Linked DNA regions of Homo sapiens: region 2 is linked to region 1. Evidence: promoter capture Hi-C in human tissues and cell types (Jung and others, 2019). All regions are on one chromosome and are shown on one strand. Each heading gives the region's core, a stretch centred on a gene start or on the middle of the fragment in contact. The rest is flanking DNA. Distances are from core to core; before and after follow the strand shown. Region 1 holds the start of MANSC4 (MANSC domain containing 4). Region 2 has its middle 26 kb from the start of FAR2.

The links. The method cuts DNA at HindIII sites, captures the fragments that hold promoters and counts their contacts. A contact is called where the count stands out against the background at its distance.
Region 2: a contact is called between a fragment that was not itself captured here and the fragment with the promoter of MANSC4 in region 1, in 1 of the 25 tissues and cell types used here (dorsolateral prefrontal cortex).

Annotation. Positions count from the first base shown.
Region 1 is chr12:27,778,640-27,781,992 of GRCh38, forward strand. MANSC4 (MANSC domain containing 4) reads right to left here and starts at 1,597. Exons shown (of 4, transcript NM_001146221.5): 1 at 1,571-1,597. It overlaps KLHL42 (kelch like family member 42), which reads left to right and starts at 1,594. Exons shown (of 3, transcript NM_020782.2): 1 at 1,594-2,563. The coding sequence starts at 1,692. RefSeq lists silencers at 1,196-1,415, 1,436-1,745 and an enhancer at 1,611-2,110. The HindIII fragment of the contact is 9,315 bases long and covers 1-3,353 here.
Region 2 is chr12:29,121,865-29,125,217 of GRCh38, forward strand. No RefSeq gene overlaps it. Among named protein-coding and RNA genes, the nearest start is that of FAR2, 26 kb to the right of the region's middle. The HindIII fragment of the contact is 4,385 bases long and covers 1-3,353 here.

The DNA.
Region 1 (3,353 bases), core at 347-2,846:
GGGGTAAGTTTTCAAGGTTTTCTGTTTTTGTTTTGTAAGATAAGAGTGAACACACCCTCTGCTTCCTCCCAATCCTTCTCCCTTCTCCTACCCAAAGATAATCCAAACAATATATTTCTCCCCCCACCCCCTTCCTGGGATGAATTCATTAGCAAGACAAAAAGTCCTTCCTATTATTATTTGGGGTGGGCCTTCTAATTGCAATGTTCAGTGAGAGAACATAGGAAACAAGTGGTCTCTCTTTTCCGAGACGGCGTCTCGCTCTGTCGCCCAGGCTGGAGTGCAGTGGCGCGATCTCGGCTCACTGCAACCTCCGCCTCCCGGGTTCCAGCAATTCTCCTGCCTCAGCCTCCCGAGTAGCTGGGATCACAGGCGCGTGCCACCACGCCCGGCTAATTTTTGTATTTTTAGTAGAGACGGGGTTTCACCATGTTGGCCATGGTGCTCTCGAACTCCTGACCTCGTGATCTGCCCACCTGGGCTTCCCAAAGTCATGGGATTACAGGCGTGAGCCACCGCGCTCAGCCAAACCGCACGTGTGGTCTCTCTTAATAGTCCTCAGATGATGGGGGCAGGGTAGGTGGAGAAAGGGGGTGACAAGAAAAGCTACTTCTTGCAGACATTTATGAGCCAATTTTGTCAGATCTTTTGCGCCAGGATAACATTCCGTAATGGACTGGACTGAAGTAGAAAAGCAATGGCTCATAGAAAACATGGTTTAAAACCAGAAGCCACGTGATGTAACTTTATTTAGTCGGGCTGCGCTTTCATCTTTCTTTTAATAACTTAGGGAGAATAAGGGGCCCCAGTGGCAAATGCAAGCTCCCCTGCCTCCCAACCCGATTCCTCTGAGAACCTGCTGCCATCTGCCTGGACCTCCTGTAAGATGGCTCCTACGCGACCACGCTACCAGAGAATCAGCTCTACGTGCCACCAACATTGCCACCAACTGTCCATAGATCGCCTGCGTGCCTCAGCCCACTGACACTCGATGCCGGACTGGGCCAGAAGGACGACCCCATATTTGATGCCTTTTTGTCTCCCTGGACCAGAGACTCCATCCTTCCCTTTCCTCCCACGCTCATTTCTTTTTCTTTAGCCCGTGTAAAGCAGCGTGGGAGAGAAAACGAATTTCTTCTCCCTGGGGTACCCCGGAGCATCACTGCAGCCCCCAACAAGCGGCGGAGCCGGCGCGCCCCGGGCGGGCGGAGAGGCTGCGGGGACGCGCGCCCTCCGCCTCCCGCAGCTGCGCGTCCGCAGCCGAGGCGCCCGGGCCCGCAGCTTCCCGGGCCTCCCCGAGAGCCGGATCCAGCCGGCAGGTCAGGCCGGCGGCTGGGGTCCCGCGGGCGGAAGTGAGAAGGGCGGCGGGGGAGGAGGCTGCTGGCTGGGAGCTGGAATTCCCTTCCCGCCTGGCGCCGCCCGGGAGAGCCCGCGCGAGGACGCCCGCCGCGCTCCGCCGGCCCTTTTTTGGCGCTGAGGGAAAGGAGAAGGGCAGGGCCGCCGCCTCGCGGGAGCGGGCCCCGGGAGGAGGGGCCGCCGGAGAGGCCGGGCGAGCGCGGGCGGCCCTCACCTCGCCGCTCCTCCCGGGCCGCCATCCCTCGGCGCCCCGCCCGGAACCGGCGCGCGCGTAGGGGCTGGGAGGCCGGCGCGCAGATCTGGCGGTGAGCGCTGCCGCCCCGGGGCCCCCAGCCATGTCGGCCGAGGAGATGGTGCAGATCCGCCTGGAGGACCGCTGCTACCCGGTGAGCAAGAGGAAGCTCATCGAGCAGAGCGACTACTTCCGCGCCCTCTACCGCTCCGGCATGCGCGAGGCCCTGAGCCAGGAGGCCGGCGGCCCGGAGGTGCAGCAGCTGCGCGGCCTCAGCGCGCCGGGCCTGCGGCTGGTGCTGGACTTCATCAACGCCGGCGGGGCCCGCGAAGGCTGGCTCCTGGGCCCGCGCGGGGAAAAGGGCGGCGGGGTGGACGAGGACGAGGAGATGGATGAGGTGAGCCTGCTGTCCGAGCTGGTGGAGGCGGCCTCCTTCCTGCAGGTCACGTCCCTGCTGCAGCTGCTGCTGTCCCAGGTGCGGCTCAATAACTGCCTGGAGATGTACCGCCTGGCGCAGGTGTACGGGCTGCCCGACCTGCAGGAGGCCTGCCTGCGCTTCATGGTCGTCCACTTCCACGAGGTGCTGTGCAAGCCCCAGTTCCACCTCCTGGGGTCTCCTCCCCAAGCTCCAGGGGATGTCAGCCTGAAGCAGAGGCTGAGGGAGGCCCGGATGACTGGGACTCCTGTCCTCGTGGCCCTCGGGGACTTCCTGGGGGGACCCCTGGCCCCTCACCCCTACCAGGGGGAGCCCCCGTCCATGCTCAGGTACGAGGAGATGACTGAGCGTTGGTTCCCGCTGGCCAACAACCTTCCTCCCGACCTGGTCAATGTCAGGGGCTATGGGTCTGCCATCCTGGACAACTACCTCTTCATAGTGGGCGGGTACAGGATCACTAGCCAGGAGATCTCCGCTGCGCATTCCTACAACCCCAGCACCAACGAGTGGCTCCAGGTGGCCTCCATGAACCAGAAGAGGTAAGCACCCCGGCAGAGTGCTGCTGCCTTCTCATTCATTCACTTGTTCATTAGTTCATTACCCCAGTGTTTACTGAGCCAGTAAATAGGGGAGGGTGTGCTGTGGTGGAAATGACATCTTCAGGAATGTTGTTGGCCTTGGCGCTGGCAAAATTCCCAATGAACTAAGAAATTGCGAAGAGGACGTCCCCAGTGAGGTCAAGAAGTGGAGTGGTTTTTTGGCAGGTATTGTGCCTTTAGGTGAAACTGCTTTCTTTGCCTCTGTTCTTGTGAAAAAAGATGTTGTGGTTTCCTACAAGAATACTTTAAAAGAAAATTGCCCCTTAATTTTTAAAAAATTTGTCTTAGTTTTTAGGATTTGATCCTGATGATAATGATACACTGGACAGTAACCTGTAACACTGACTTTGGGGGATTTTTTTCTGATGTCAGTGACTGTGACAACAGAGTCTTCCACACTGTGATACCCATCATGATCAAGAGATAATCACTGGAAATGTATTAACGTTTGCAATAGGGGTTGCTTTTCTTATTTTTTATCCTCTCTTTTGCTTCCTTCCCTGGACAGCCATCGTCATGACCCACAGCTTGAGCCTGGAAGTGTTCAACTACAGAATTGGAATATTTTCATTTACGCAACCTTCTCCCCCTCCCATCCTGCAAATCTCTCCTGCCTCCAACAAGGGTGACTTGAAGAAAGGAAGAGGAGGAGCTTGAGGAGTGGGATGAGAGGGGAGAAGGGAAAGGAACCAGGGAAGGAATATCAAAACAAGAGCAAAGAGCATATACA
Region 2 (3,353 bases), core at 566-3,065, 1.3 Mb after region 1:
TAACAGAAAAGATAAAATAATTATCAAATCCTGACTCTCACAGACCATGAACGCAGTAAACTACGCATGAAGTGTCTTTTCTTTGAAGTGCTGAAAGGTAAATGTTTCCTTTCCCTTTATGCTCTAATTTCTGGTTCCATATCAGTGTAGTATTTGCAACAGTTGCTTTTCATGGCTGAGGAAAATTGCTCATATTATGAAATCCACATTACTCTTAAATTTGTATATATGTACATCTCAGTGTAACACTGAAGCATGTTACTGGTTTGATTTTTTTTCTTGCCTTGGCAACTAGAGAAAGTTCAACACTAGAATTGAGAATACTTTTATTTGTATAAAACTTCTTAATGAGATTTATTAGATATTTCAAAACAATAAAATATAATTAGCTTTATTTAAATAATTTTGGCCCAGCACAGTGACTCTTGTCTGTAATCCCAACACTGTGGGAGGCCAAGGGAGGAGGATCCCTTGAGGCCAGTAGTTTGAGACCAGCCTGGGAAACATAGCAAGACCTTGTCTCTACAAAATTTTTTATAAAATAATTCACCCTGGAATGGTGGTGTGCACCTGCAGTCTCAGCTACTGGGGAGGCTGAGGTGGGAGGACCCCTTGAGCCCAGGATTTCAAGGCTGCAGTGAGCTGTGATCACACCACTGTACTCCAGCCTGGGCAACAGAATGAAGCACTGTCTTTAAAAATAAACACATACATAAATAAGTTTTATTTAAAACTTCAATATTCAATAATTTAATTTGCAGTTGGGCCTTTGATTCAAATATGTAATTTAAATGTATTATTTAAAACATTTAAAATCTGTATTTTTCCAAATTTTGCATTTAATTTAATCCACATTTGTGGGAAAATAATTTCAAACTTTATCCCCTCTTAAATATTACTTTATTCTTTAATCCTTTAGGTCATTTACTTCAAATAGAATACAAATAATGATGTTATCTTGGCTTTAATAATAAAATTAGTGATTTGTTTAAATGTAGCCAAGAAAAATCGATTTCTTAGAATAAATAAGAAATAATTTGTGAATTATGTGTATCTTTATTTTGTTCTTCACCCAAACACTGCCAGCCCATCAAATTAACATTCACATACACCCAATAATAATTAAATTCAGTCATCCTGAAACCTTGGCTACTTTAGCCATATAAACATCATGGCTTTATACATATATTTTTATTTTGTCATTTAAATATACATTTGTCAAGGTAGAAGGGTAGAGCGTATTTTATATAGTAGTTTGTTAGCTTGTGTTGTGGCTTTTAAAACATCTAGACTAGTCATAAACCTTGCTAGCAGATATAGACAAACCATCAGAATAAAGTCAAAATGTACTGGGTTATGATTCCAACACTTGGAGAAACTCTCTCTACTGGTAGATGATATTCTTGTTTACAGTGTGGACACAGGGAACATTGCTGATTTAAGGCTTCATAGAGATGCAAAACATGTACATATTTATTTGTTCTTTGGAGTATAGGCACTCTCATACTCTTTTACCCAGTGACATATAAAGGAGATTTCTCCTGTGGCTCCATAACCTAATTCTAGTTACTATTACAAGATCCTTCTCCTAGAAATGAAAGGACTTTTTTTATTTGGGGAGAATGAAATAAGAGCCACCAATCTTCTTTCTAGAGAATTCTATAGTCTCTTTTCTTGATGTTCATTTCTAGAACTCATGCATTTTTTAACCATCTTTGATTTCATTTATATCTTCTTCATATCTGATACCTCTCCAGCAGCATTCTATTTTTTAATTAATAAACTTCATTTTTAGAGTAATTTTAGGTTCACAGCAAATTGAGCAGAAAGTACAGAGTTCCTGTATACTCATTGTCCCCAAAGCACACAGCTTATCACCATCATGCACCAGAGAAATTGAGCAGAGGGTTCCCCATATACTCACTGTTCCCACCCACAACCTTTCCAGCTATCAACATCCTGTACCAAAGTGCTGCATGTCTTATAATCAATGAGCCTACGTTGATTCATTGTTATTACCCAAAGTCCATAGTTCGCATCAGAGATCACTCTTGGTGTTGTACCTTCTGTGGGTTTTGATAAATGTATAATGGCATGTAGCCACTATGGTAGTATTTTACAGAATAGTTTCACTGCCGTAAAATCTTCTTTGCTCTGTCTATTCATTGACCCCCAAACCCCCTGCAGCCCAGATCCTGGCAACCACTAATCTTTTTACTATTTCCAACTTTTTTACCTTTCCCAGAATGTCATATATTTGGAATCATACAGTTCATAATCTTTTCAGATTGGCTTATTTTACTTAGTAATATGCATTTAAGTTTCCTTCATATCTTCTCATAGCTCATTTCTTCTCATCAGCACTGAATAATGTTCTATTGTCTGATGTAGTTTGAGTACCACAGCTTATTTATACACTCACCTACTGAAGGACATGTTGGTTTCTTCCAAGTTTGGGCCATTATGAATAGGCTGCAGGTTTTTGAGTAAACATGTTTTAAATTTGTTTAGGGAAATAGCAGAGTGTGATTGCTAGGTCATACGGTAAGAGTGTGTTTAGTCTTATAAGAAAATGCCAAACAGTCTTCCATAGTGGCTGTATCATTTTACATTCCCATCTACAGTGAATAAGATTTCCTGTTGCCACACATCTTCACCAGCATTTAGTGTTGTCAGGGTTTCTGATTTTGGATTTAGACCATTCTAATAGGTGCATAGTAATTTTTTGATTGTCATTTTAATTTGAAATTCTTTAATAGCATATCATATCAAACATGTTTTCATATGCTTACATGATATTTGTATATATTATTTGATGAAGTGTCTGTTCAGGTCTTTGGACGTTTTAGTTGGGTTGTTCATTTTCTTATTATTGAGTTCTAAGAATTCTTTTTATATTTTGGATAACAGTCCTGTCTTTTCTAAATATTTTCTGTTGGCCCAAAGCTTGTTTTCTCACTCTCTTGACATTAAATTTTGCAAAGCAGAAATTTTTAATTTTAATAAAGTCCATCTTATCATTATTTCTTTCAGCAATCACATTTTCAGTGTGGTTTCTAAAAAGTTATCACCATACTCAAGATCATCTAGGTTTTCTCCTACATTATCTTTTAGGAGATTTATAGCCTTGCACTTCACATTTAGGTCTATAATTCATTTTGAGTTAATTTTTGTGAAGATGTAGGTGTGTGTCTAGGTTTGTTTTTTGTTTTGTTTTGTTTTGTTTTGTTTTTGCATGTGTATGTCCAGCTGTTCCAGCACCATTTGTTGAAAAAAACTGTCTCTGCTTCATTGTATTGCCTTTGCTGCTTTGTCAAAGATTAGTTGGATATATTTATAATGGTCTATTTCTG